Linked DNA regions of Homo sapiens: region 2 is linked to region 1. Evidence: promoter capture Hi-C in human tissues and cell types (Jung and others, 2019). All regions are on one chromosome and are shown on one strand. Each heading gives the region's core, a stretch centred on a gene start or on the middle of the fragment in contact. The rest is flanking DNA. Distances are from core to core; before and after follow the strand shown.

Region 1 (6,668 bases), core at 323-2,822:
TCAGGATTATTTGAGGGCTTTTTTATATCACTGGAGATATGAACCACAATTCGGGAATCATCATATTTGTAAGCCATTATTAGCAACAACGTTAGATTTTATGTCTACGTTTTTTAAGGGAATCATAAAGGTTGATCCCTGCTTTGCAGTTCAAAACACTTATACAACATGATCTCCGTTCATCTAATCCTGGCAGTCACTTTTTGAGGAGGTCTACAGAAAAGATTACATTTGAGCAGTAGGAAGGCTAGGTGACTCTCCTAAATTAAGGCAGCTAGTTCTTGGTAGAACTAGGCATCTACATTCTTTTTTTTTCTTTTTAAACATCAGTCTTTCCCCCGGGTCTGGATGGATCCATCTGTGATAGATCACGGCATTACTGGCCTTGTCAAATCTTACCCCGGTATTAACCATGTTTTTCATTTGGACATCACCAGGCTCTTAAAATGTTGTTCCTCCTCCTCCTTAGTAAGCAATGGAAAATCAATATATATCCAGCTACCTCCCCACACACACACAAATATAACATCTAGGAGAGTAAATATTTTTTGTGTTTACGATTATACTCTCAGTGCAAAGAACAGTGCCTTTTTCAATAAACGTTTGATGAAGGAAATAAGATAACTCACTCAATGCCTGGCAAGAATTGGATATCATTCCTCTTGTGCAAGGATCTGTGTGGTACTATCAGATAGTAATTTCTCCTCACAGTCTTCTAAAGCAACTTGATCATCTACCTGTTTCTCTTTTGCCCATTTCCTGTATATTTGGAATTTCTCTGTTTACAATCATGTCACCTGCACTCCAGAAGAAGCTCTACACTACATTCCAAAAAGCAATCAGACCCAAGACAAGTGCTACATATAATCTATACTGCTTCCAAAAATGTCCTGGCTGTCATACATCAAAGAAAGAATCAAATGAAGATATCCACATATGGGCTCATTTAGAGTTTCTGTTACTTTAATAATATAAAATCAAGTCCAAATTCCTGATTGTAAAGTGAAATAACAAGAATGGGGTTTGTGAGCTGATGGGCCAGCACAATGGGCTCAAAGATAAACCAAGCAAATAAGATCTATTCTTCTGGCCAGTAGATCCATGCTCTCTGTTCATTCTGAATTCTGAGAATACTTTGTAAACTGAGGACTCCAAATTTTCCTCTCCATTGGATACACAAAGCATAAAAGAGGAGTGAAAAAAGAGGTGAGGGCCCCTATAATTTCAGCTACTCTGGAGACTAAGGCAGGAGAATTGCTTGAACCCGGGAGGTGGAGGTTGCAGTGAGCTGAGATCGTGCCACTGCACTTCAGCCTGGCCAACAGAGTGAGACTCAGGGAGGGAGGGAGGGAGGGAAGGAGGGAAGGAGGGAAGGAGGCAGGGAGGGAGGGAGGGAAGGAAGGAAGGGGAAAGAAAGAAAAAAAAAGAAAGAGAAAAAAAGAGAAAGAAAGAGAAAGAGAGAGAAAGAGAGAGAGAAAGAGAGAGAGAAAGAAAGAGAGAGAAAGAGGCAAAGATGGCACTTATGTAACTTACAAAGAGAAAGTATGATCATTTAATCATCTGTTTGTATAGGATTTTTAGTCCAAATTTTCCTTTGGCATATTAGAGGTTAGGGATCTCCACCCATGATCTGGAATGCTTTCTTCTTAGCCAAATAAACTCTGACTAAATGACATGCAGCAGCGTGCGTCTCTGTCTTCTGCACAGACATCTTCCAAGACACTGATATCTACATTGCTTTCTCCTACGTGGAAATTTAAATATCTTTGGAGCCTTTGGGACCCCATTCCTGAATGAGTCCTATTCAAGGAGGTTGTTGAGCAAAGGGAGTAATTAGAAGTGAGTAAACTGTCTAGTTGAAATAGAATATGGTGATGTTTCCCACTGTGACAGTGCTGGATAGGAACAAGGGGGAGCCAAATCTCTATTTTCTACCTCTAAGATTGACCCTGGGAAAGGAGAAAAAAGGTGAATGGTATAGCCCAATCCTAGGACATATGTAGAAACCAGTTACCCAGTTTCAGGATACATTATCGGAATGAGAAATAACCTAACAACCATATATCTCAGACTTTTAAAAATATCCAATTTTAAATATTTTAATCTCAGTTTCTTCATAGTTCTTGCCATGAACTGAATTGTGTTCCTTCAAAAATTCGTGTTGAAACTCTTAACACACCCAATCCACGTAACTGTATTGGAAGTAGGGTCTTTAAGAAGGTGAATAAAGTTAAATGAGACCATAAGGATGAAGCCCTGATGCAATAGAACTGGTATCTTTGTAAAAGGAGAGACATCAGATCTCTCTCTCTGTCTCTTTCTCTCTCTCTCTCTGCCTGTCTTTTTCTCTCCCTTTATCTCTCCATGTGAGAACACAGCAAGAAGACAGCCCCATCTCTAAGCCCCAGAAACCAAACCCTGCTGCAAAACCTGTGCAACCTTGATCTTGAATTTTACAATCTGCAGAACTGCGAGAAAAAAAATTCCTGTTGTTTGTGTCACCTAGTATATTCTGTTTTGTTATGGCAGCCCTAGTGAACTAACATAGTTCTTCTACTTTTCAGACTATGGTTTCTAATATTTTGATATAGAAATAGAATTTCTTTTCCTAGACTCCAACAAACATTTGTCAATTGGCACAGCTGAATTTCCTGAACCAGAAATAGTTCTCCTGATGATATTCCCAGAATTATATCAAAGTATTATTCAACAAACATTAATTAATAACCTATACAACCAAGAATAAGACAAATTTCCTTAATCTTGACCTTCTCTTCTGTGAAAGGAGTCAAGAACCTTGCCCTTTGAGATTCCAGACATTTGTAATCTGGAAATTATTCCTCTTTCATGTAACGTAACAGTTACAGAGTTGTCAAAGAACTGAAAAATATGTAAAAACCTGAAATAATAAAGTAGAGAAAACAAAAGAAAAGAGGTCAGCAATGCTAAATTTGGCTCTTTGAAAAGACTAAGAAAATAGAAGTACTTCTTTAAAAATGATTCTTGAAAAAAGTGAGAAGGCACATATAAACATGAGGAATGAAAGGATGACAGAAGCACATGGATTAAGCAGAATGAAAAGAGATATTACAACATTTGCCAAGATATTCAAATGATTTGTCAAAATAATTTATCAAATGCTTATTAATTTGTGAAAACTGACTAAAAATAGAAAATATGAAGAGTCGTATGTAAAAGTTTCTATTGCTTACTGCATAACCAATTACTCCAAACTTTTGTGGCTTAGAGGCATTTATTATCTCATGCTTTCTGTGACTCAGAAATCCAAGCACACCTTAACTCAATTCCTCTGGATCAGGGTCTCTCATGAAGTTACAGTCAAGCTACCAGCTGGGGCTGTGGTCTCCTCTGAAGGTTTGACTGGGAAAGGATCTATTTCCAAGCTTACTCACATGGCTACTGGCAGACCTGGCCCTGTCCACAGAACTGTGTCATAACATGGGAGCTGACTTCTCCCAAGGCAACCAAGTCAAGAGACAGTAAGATCGGGCCAGTGAACCCAAGATGGAAGGCACCACCTTTTATGATCTAATCTCCAAAATGATACTTCTTCAACTCTACTCACTAGAACCACATTCTATTCACTAGAACCAAGTCACTAAATCAGGGCAGGTGATTACACAAAGCATGAATCCTAGAAGGTGGGAGTCACCAGGGGCCATATGAGATGCATTGTAGGACAGTGGGGGAACGATAAACTATTAAATAAGTGATCCTGGGACAATTGGCTATTTGTGTTTTTTAAAAGTAGAAGGGAATTGAATTCTTACCTTGGTCATGAGCAAGAACCAATTCCAGGTGGATTAAAGATTTAAAAGCGAAAAAATAAAAATAAAATTAAAGGCAAATTAAAGGTAATATGTTATTTCTAAGTAAGACACAATAATCTTTAATCATAAAAGAAAGTTTTGGTAAGTCACCTTAAAGGAAGCCATTGATTTTATCAAAAAAATGGCTTAAAGCTAATAAAAAGAGAAGCTGCAAACTAGGGGAAGATATTTGCAGGACATCTTACCAAGAAAAGATTAGTATCCAGAATACATACAGAACTACTATGAATCAATTTTATAAAAGTCCAAATACTCAAAAGAAAATGAACTAAAAAATAGCATAAATTTTCCAAAGGAGGAAACCTAAATTGTCATTAAACATATTAGAAGATGCTTAACTTTACCAGTAATCAGGGACCAAAATTTTACAATGCAATATATACATTCACATACCATCAGATTGGCAGATACTAAGAAGGATGTTAATATAAAGTGTTGAAGAATGGAAGTGCTGTGAAATATCATCCACTGAGGGTATGAATGTATTTGTTATAATCATTACATTTTGGAAAGCTCTTTGGCATTCCACTCCTAAATATATCTTTTTAGAGAAACTCTTGAAGTGGTGACCCAGTGACGTGCAGAAGAATGTTTTTAACAGTAATTAAAAATCACCCACATGTCTGACAACCATAGACCAAATAAATATATAAAGATGTAAAATTACAGCTATATGCATCAAAATGAATGAATCTCAAAAGTAAGTTTGAAAAGGAAAAAAGCATCATGTTTGAGCATATTTAAACAAATTTCAAAACCAGAAAAAACTAAATAATATATTGTTTGGGAATGCATACATAGGTGGTAAATAAATAAAATAAAGAAATTTCCTTAACAAAAATTCAGATTGCTATTAACTTCTGGGAGGATAGGACTAACAGAAATACACAGAAAGAATGTCTAGATTATATTCAATTTCTATACCAGCTATAAGGAATACATGTGTTCATTAATAGTCTTTCAATTTTGTAATATATTTAAAATTTGCAGAATATTTAAAAATATTTTACATAATAATTTTTAAAACTGGCTGAAATAAATTGAAAAGTATATTATTAAATTTATTTTAAATACTATGATATAAATTAATATAAATAACATATAAAACAGATACGTATTTATTCCCAGCCAATAAAAAGCACGTACCATTTAATTTATTTAAAATTAATTATGAAAACCACAATTTATTGAACACATAATTTTTTAAATGCTGAATTATGCCATGTTTGGCTTGTTCACCAAATATATATTAAAATACGGAGTAAAATTTTAGGACTTGTTAGGGTGTGAAAATGAACAAAACCGGTTTTCAAAACACATTCTTTAGAATGTTAGCATTTCATAGTTAAAGAATTTAAATAATGTTGGAAAGGGAAAGACTCAGGCTTCTATTTGTAAGCACTTCTCAATTTTTTATAACCAGGTATATGGTGTCTATCCTCAGAAATGAAATAAAACTGGGAGTAAAATTGTCACTGTATATTTTAACAACATTTTTGAAATACCAGAATATGATGAAATGAATACAATTTCTTAAGTGCAACATGAGCCAAGCATACGTGATTAATGCCAGTCTACTTATCATGTTTATTTATTTTGAGCTCAACATTATTTTTCCTCATATTTCCTCTAGTTAATCACTAGTCCAAAATGGGTATAAATTATATATAAATGAGAAGACAAACACTTTAAGACTATAATGGTTAACATAAGCAGTTGTTATTTTTGCATATCACCAAATCAGTGACTGAAACATGAGCATATGTCCCCACATCCTTTATTGCACGTGTTCACTCAGACCACACGTACAGAGGCTCTCAAAAAATTTTATATGGATGAAAAGGTATTAAAATATTTTTCTTAATGTGTGTTTGTTTTTAAGAATCATATTGGAAAAGAGTGCACTATTGCTATCCCTACCTATATGAAAGGTTAGAATTATTTTTTTGGATCTCTGGAGGCTTTCAAACCCCTGATTTGAAAATGTTGCCCTGCAGAATTCAGAATATCCTCTGCAGCACTCAGAATGCATTCCTGCACTTCCATGAACAGGAATGACACTTTTTCAAGGCCGACCATTGTCTGGTTAATCATTTTCTTCCATTCAATCATTCCTCCTTGAGTTTTCTAGAAAATGTTCCTTGTTCTGCTCTTGTAATCTGCCAAATGAATGTGGGCCCCTTTTCATCCAGCATCCCTTTACAGATTTGAGATCATCAGTCCTATCTGCTGTCTCTTTATCTAAATATTCTAATTTCCCACAACCATCTCTCTCTCCAACATCACGTTCTTTTTTTATTTTTGCATGTCACTATTCTAGTTTGTTGATGTCTCCCTTGAGGTGCCATCTCAGACTTGAAGGCAATTCATCAGGTATGATAACATTTAGATTGTGCCTGGGACATAGGTGGGCTCAATAAATTCCTGTTGAATGAATGAATGACTTATCTTTTTCCTATCTTTTGCATTTCTTTGTGTTGAAGTCAATTTGCTCTTCATGCTTGGGAACTAATTCCTCCTATCCTATTCTGCCACTTCCAGGTGAAAAAAAGAAAATGACAGCTGGTCCTACTCCCAGTACATTCATGAATACTTATCTTATTAGGCCAAAGTTTCCTAATACACTTTTACATCTTCAACTGGTGTTATTTTTTTTCTCCCTGGAGAAGGCACTTTCATGGGAAGGCAGTCACTGCTGAGAGGATGATGTCTGACTTCACAAGCCGATCTGATTTTATGTTTACATAGTCTATTTTCTTTTTGTTTCTCTTAGTATTGATTTATTAACATCATTTTTTAAAATGCCAGCCTTTCACA
Region 2 (6,395 bases), core at 1,228-3,727, 360 kb before region 1:
AATAAAAAGTCTCATAACTTATGTTTCCATTATTTGTGTTTTACATTCCAGCCAAAATGAAGGTCAGGTGAGTTAATGGATGAGGAGAGATTGGAAATGCGGAGACTTAGAAGAGATCTGTGACCTTGGGTGAATGGCTTTACTTCTTTGAACTTTTTAGAGGTCTTTGCCTGTAAGATGAGGGCAAATAATAGTTCTGTGAATCTATCAGTTCCTGGCATTGGAAATGCTTGGGAAGATTTTAAAAAAACACAGCCACCATATCCATATCTATGGAGATTCTGATTCCAAAGGTATGGTTGGAGCCCAGCATTTCTTTTTAATGAATATTTTAGATAATTGTGATAACCAGCTAGGTTTGGGAAACACTGGATGAGATACTCTCTCAAGTCTTTTCGGGTCTAAAATTTTATGAGTTTGTTGGTTTGATGTTAAAGAAAATAAGTAAATATCTTAGAGACAGAGACATAGGATAGACGATTTTAATCCAGGCAGAGCTTGGAGGTATGGAGTAAAAGACAGAAAAAGACAAATGCAAACCAAAGAGGAAGAACAAATGTGGATGTGTTCCTGCAGTGGGAGTCTGGTCTACTAGGACTCAGTTTGAGGGCACTGAACAGATGGAAAGTCAGTTGGGAGAAGTGCTCAAAGAAAAGTGGGTGGAAGGCAGGGACAGCCAGAGGGAATTTTGACTAGTTATTAATTTAGAGAAAGGCTGGTCTTGGTAGACATTGAGAGCAGTTACCTGATAGGGATTCTTGTTACCATTAAACATACACTCCATGAGAGGACAGGGGAGGGGAACGAGAGAAGTATGTTCTTGTCTGAGCTGGGACTAGAGTAGTGCAATTAATTCCTGAGGTGAGTGGAATATGAATAAATTATTGAATAGCCTATTCTAAATTACAATAGCCCTTTGTGTTAACCTTTCCAGGCTCTAATTGCTTCCTTTTAAAACTTAAATTCATTGAATATTTACTTGTTATTTTCCAAGAGACTGTCAGATCCAAGAAGGCAAGGGCTCTGCTTTATGGATTTCAGTAGCTGTCCTTGGGAGGTAGTTTAGTCTAGCAGCTACATAAGGGGCTTGGAGTCAGACAGACCTAAGCATACCTGTGGACTCTGAAACATCTTGTCTCTGTGAGCAACTTACCTGTAAAATAGGTATTGTGAGAAATAAATAAAGATATGTTTGTATATGTGTACTCTGGATCTTGGCAGCTGGAATAAGGGTACTATGTCAGGTACTAAATTATTGGGTATTCAAGAAATGGTAATGACAATCATTTTTTTCACAATGATTTTCTCTTAATAGTACAGGATACATGTTAGTAGAAAGCCAAATCAAGCAATTCCAAGAGATAAACAAACATTTCTTCTTCTCTAGGGAAACTAATTGCTAAGCAAGTGGTCTTGAGGGAGTCTCTATCTTAATGGCCAGATCATTGAGGTCTGTAATCCAGAATAAAACTCTTTAGTCTTTTGTTATTCACTGGTCAGGAAAAAGCTTTGTCTCCTTCCTGGAAGCTGGAGAGGCCTTTGGGCAAATGAACAATTGGAAGTCATGTCCTTCAGTGCAGGAAGTGTTATGAGATACATTAGAGGTTCTGATCCTTTGACCTGTACTGGGAAGAGAGGGCTTTGAGCTCAGATCTGTCATCTTGTCTTCACTAGGGTCATCTTCCTCCCCAGAATGTGAAAAAGAGGCAGTAGAGTATAGCATTTATGGCTCTAAAGGGAAGGAAGGTGAGTGCCTGCCCCGATGCTGGTCACTTATGTAACATGGTGATTTCAAGTGCAAGCCATTTGAGCCATACTGCCGAAATTCACCTTCTGGCTGCAGGTGGTTTGGGGACTTTTGTCTAGTTATGTCATCTTACTTGTTTCATCTGTAAAATGAAGATAATAATATTGCTACATGGCTCTTCAAACAGAACCTCTTATAGTAACCACTCAATAAGTGTCAGCTTTAAAAAATTATTAAATGTACAGCCACTTGAGCTAAGAGATCTTGGAAAAGCATGAGCTCACCTACTTAATCTGACAGTGTGGACCCAGAGGTGGAAGCTCTGAGCAGAGCCACTGTGGCTTCTGCATCTCAGGATTCCCTTCAGGGAAGAGGTCCAGGTTTTACCAAGTGAAGCAGAGACAGGAGAGGGAAAGATATAGAAAAGGGACTGACCTAAGGATCTAAAAGACATTTGGATTATTTTTGGTACCCCTTTCTTCAGCAGATCCAGCTCTCATTCTGCAGTTACAGTTGAGTCTCATATTACACTTTGGGAGTTATAATCACTCGGACTGTGAAGATAGACCCACAGTGAGTGGTAAAAACCTTCCTACCAAAGTTCAAATCTCTCTCCTTGGATTCCTTTTCTAAGAATGGGAGATAGAGACTAAGAATGTGGTGGTGATGTTTCTTTCTAAGTGGTCCTCTTCTCTTGTCCCCTCCGACTCTCCTGCCTGACCAAAAAGAATGGCAGCCAAAAACTCTTCTGTGACAGAGTTTATCCTCGAAGGCTTAACCCACCAGCCGGGACTGCGGATCCCCCTCTTCTTCCTGTTTCTGGGTTTCTACACGGTCACCGTGGTGGGGAACCTGGGCTTGATAACCCTGATTGGGCTGAACTCTCACCTGCACACTCCCATGTACTTCTTCCTTTTTAACCTCTCTTTAATAGATTTCTGTTTCTCCACTACCATCACTCCCAAAATGCTGATGAGTTTTGTCTCAAGGAAGAACATCATTTCCTTCACAGGGTGTATGACTCAGCTCTTCTTCTTCTGCTTCTTTGTCGTCTCTGAGTCCTTCATCCTGTCAGCGATGGCGTATGACCGCTACGTGGCCATCTGTAACCCACTGTTGTACACAGTCACCATGTCTTGCCAGGTGTGTTTGCTCCTTTTGTTGGGTGCCTATGGGATGGGGTTTGCTGGGGCCATGGCCCACACAGGAAGCATAATGAACCTGACCTTCTGTGCTGACAACCTTGTCAATCATTTCATGTGTGACATCCTTCCTCTCCTTGAGCTCTCCTGCAACAGCTCTTACATGAATGAGCTGGTGGTCTTTATTGTGGTGGCTGTTGACGTTGGAATGCCCATTGTCACTGTCTTTATTTCTTATGCCCTCATCCTCTCCAGCATTCTACACAACAGTTCTACAGAAGGCAGGTCCAAAGCCTTTAGTACTTGCAGTTCCCACATAATTGTAGTTTCTCTTTTCTTTGGTTCTGGTGCTTTCATGTATCTCAAACCCCTTTCCATCCTGCCCCTCGAGCAAGGGAAAGTGTCCTCCCTGTTCTATACCATAATAGTCCCCGTGTTAAACCCATTAATCTATAGCTTGAGGAACAAGGATGTCAAAGTTGCCCTGAGGAGAACTTTGGGCAGAAAAATCTTTTCTTAAGAAAGGATTAGTATTGGAGGAAGGAGATACAATGCTTTGCTTATTAGTGTGTGTTTTCAGTGAGATTCAAGTTCCATTTTTTTCCTGTCTTGTACAGAAAAAGAATTTTAAATCTTTACATTTGGATGAGTGTTAAGTGCAGACATATTCTCCCTGTCTCTGCTTCACCTAGTTATTCCAGGATTTCTTCATTTTATGCAAATTTTTCTATAATCATAGACCATTTAATCGTGAATTGGCCTTACACATTATTTAATCTAGTCTCTTCAATTAACATGTGTTGGAGACTCAGAAATACATATGTTGCTCAAGGACACACAACTACTTGGTGCCACAACTGGGAATGGAATCCAGGTCCTTGAATTCCAGGCTGCTTTTTTTTTCTTTATGTCATTTTTTCATGCTTCATTGCTGCCCTTGCAGATATCCTTTTAAAAGTAAGAAAACTTAACACATTAAAACCTAATTCTATTCATAGTAATTTAATGTGACCTCTCAATAAATAATTTTTAAATATTTCATTTTTTTTCAAGAGGATAGAAGATGAAACATTTTCTTAAGTTGGTCTTCACCAAATGAGAAGAGAATTGTGTCAAGTTTGTAGAATGTGACTGACATTGAGTTAAGATTGAGGTTGTGTGGAACCCTAGGAACCCAGTCTAGGGAATTAGGACTTCCATAGGATTAAGGGTTATAAAGATGCTGAGTAGAAATCATACATTCATTTGAAAACTTAAAGAATCAGAATGTAGAGCTTTTTCAAGGGTTAGTTTGGGTGTTTGAGCTGTGATGGAGAAATATGTGGCTTAGGATAATCAACTAAGGGTCTGGAAGTTTTCGAGGCGAAGTAAATAATGTTGAGAATCTAGTTAGTTATTAAAACAGCACTAAGCAGCTGATTATTAAAAGAGGCAATTTCCATTGAATTTTAAGGTACTGCAGACTGCACTCATATAAACATATGTGGTAAAAGATAATTCATCCAAGACTGGGTTGTAAACCCACAACATATAATGATAGTTATAGAACACGCCAGATCAATACACTTTGATCTAAATAATTTATTAGTAGCAAAGGAAGGTTCTTTGGATTAGCATTAACCATGTTAAGTGCTGGGGAGACACTTTGATTTCTGAGCTTTTCCTTGGGAATATTCTTTGGGAAAAAGGGAAGTTTAGATGAGGGTGTAGTTTTGTTCTTTGGTATGACACGAAGGGCTTGAAGTCATAAGACTGAGAGTGTGTGTGTGTGTACGTGTGTGTGTGTGTGTGGTGGGAAAGATTTTTCTTTAGTCAGCGTGGAATAGGAAAGAGAAGTGAGTTCAGGAGACTTGTGGGTGGGCGTCTGGTGGGTGAGGTGAATAGGCTATTTGAGGTAGAGAGCAGATGAAAACAGCGATTCGTGAGGCACATGATGAAGTTGGTTTTGTATCCTGGCTCAGTTGCTTAGTAATTTTGTGACTTTGGGCAAATTACTTAATGTCTCTAAATATTAATTTTTTTATTTTTGAAAGTGATGTAATGATTCTGACTTCGTGGGGTCTTTGAAGAATTAAATGCAGGGCACTTACTACATTTTAGTTATCACCCTGCAATAATTCTTTTATGTAATTATCAGCACTTCCTTGAGTTTTTCCATGAGCTGAGACAAGTCACTTCATCTTCCTGGAACTCTGCTTAGTCATGAGAAAAATGAACTCTAAGTATCATTTAAAAAGTCATATATTTTGACTAAGTAATATTTGCGTATGGTACAGCACTAAACAATATAAATGGGGGTTATACAGTGAAAATATGTCTTCCTCCTATCTTATCATTCCATTCCTAAAATCTCCTTCCTAAAAACAACAGTTGTTGCTGATTTCCTATGAATCTTCTCATATTCGAGCATATCTATCTATGTATCTTTCTATCTATGCATGTATCTGTGTATGTATGTACATATCTATCTAATTTATCTAATCTATCTGCCTATCTATTCATCCACCTATCTTGTTTTAAAGTTGTATAAAAAGGCATTTTCCAAAGGAAACAGCCTAGAAGAGGATGGGATAAGAGAACAATGCAGGGGTAAAAAGAAGAGGAGCCAATCACAGAAGAGGTCTGGGAAGGGATGCAGCTGAGGAGGGAGAGAAAGAACAGAGGCACACTTGGCCCTGGATGCATCACTGTGGACCCCAGCCCTGGAGCCACAGGGTAACATTTTGGTTCCCTGATCTTCTGTCCTCATCTCGTGGTTGCACCACTCCCATCACTATTTGGTTGATATTGTGGTGAGGTCAGAGCCTCTGATAGTTAAGAATATCAGGATGGCAAGTATTTTTAATCCGTCACAAAGTTCTATACGTGCTTATCTATTTTAACTAATGAGGCACATGGTTTTTCTTTTTCTGATTCTTGGAGCAACTCATATATTATTGTTGAAAATTTGGAATGTGAAATATGTGTGAAGAAAATGATTACCTATATCTCAATGTGGTAGTTTGAGTTATTGGTCAAAATTCGTCATTCATCTAGTAGTATTATATATCCATTCCCTTGCCATGGTCTCACAGAAGTAGGGTATATTTTTCCTTGCCTATGACTGTTGGCTTGGCCAGGTGAACTATTTTGGCTAATAGGATATTAGTAGATGAGATGTTAGCAGGAGCTTGGAATATCTTTGCATGGTATTTGCCCTCTTCGGCTTCTGCCATTGCCTTGAGAAGAGTCCCTCCTGGGTAAATGCTGCCGCTCCCAACTAATTCTCAATATGAACACACGAGGAGCAGTGTTCACTGTGCAGAGCAAGCAGTGCGGCCCAGCTGAGCCCAGACAAGACGAACTACCACAATCAATTTGTAGACATATGAGAAACAAATATTCCTTGTTGTATGCCAATGAGATTGTGTTTGGTTGTATAATAATAGCTAACTGGTCTACTCCACCATTCGGAGAACAGGAAAGGAGAATATTGTCTGGAATATGAAAGTCTCTTCCAGTGGGAT

What was found. The method cuts DNA at HindIII sites, captures the fragments that hold promoters and counts their contacts. A contact is called where the count stands out against the background at its distance.
Region 2: a contact is called between the fragment with the promoter of OR8B12 here and the fragment with the promoter of OR10D3 in region 1, in 4 of the 25 tissues and cell types used here (IMR-90 fibroblasts, heart left ventricle, mesendoderm cells and 1 more).

The regions. Positions count from the first base shown.
Region 1 is chr11:124,178,249-124,184,916 of GRCh38, reverse strand. It overlaps OR10D3 (olfactory receptor family 10 subfamily D member 3), which reads right to left and starts at 1,572. Exons shown (of 2, transcript NM_001355213.3): 1 at 1,534-1,572. The HindIII fragment of the contact is 12,854 bases long and covers 1-6,668 here.
Region 2 is chr11:124,539,736-124,546,130 of GRCh38, reverse strand. It overlaps OR8B12 (olfactory receptor family 8 subfamily B member 12), which reads left to right and starts at 2,477. Exons shown (of 1, transcript NM_001005195.1): 1 at 2,477-3,409. The coding sequence starts at 2,477. The coding sequence ends at 3,409. The HindIII fragment of the contact is 12,708 bases long and covers 1-6,395 here.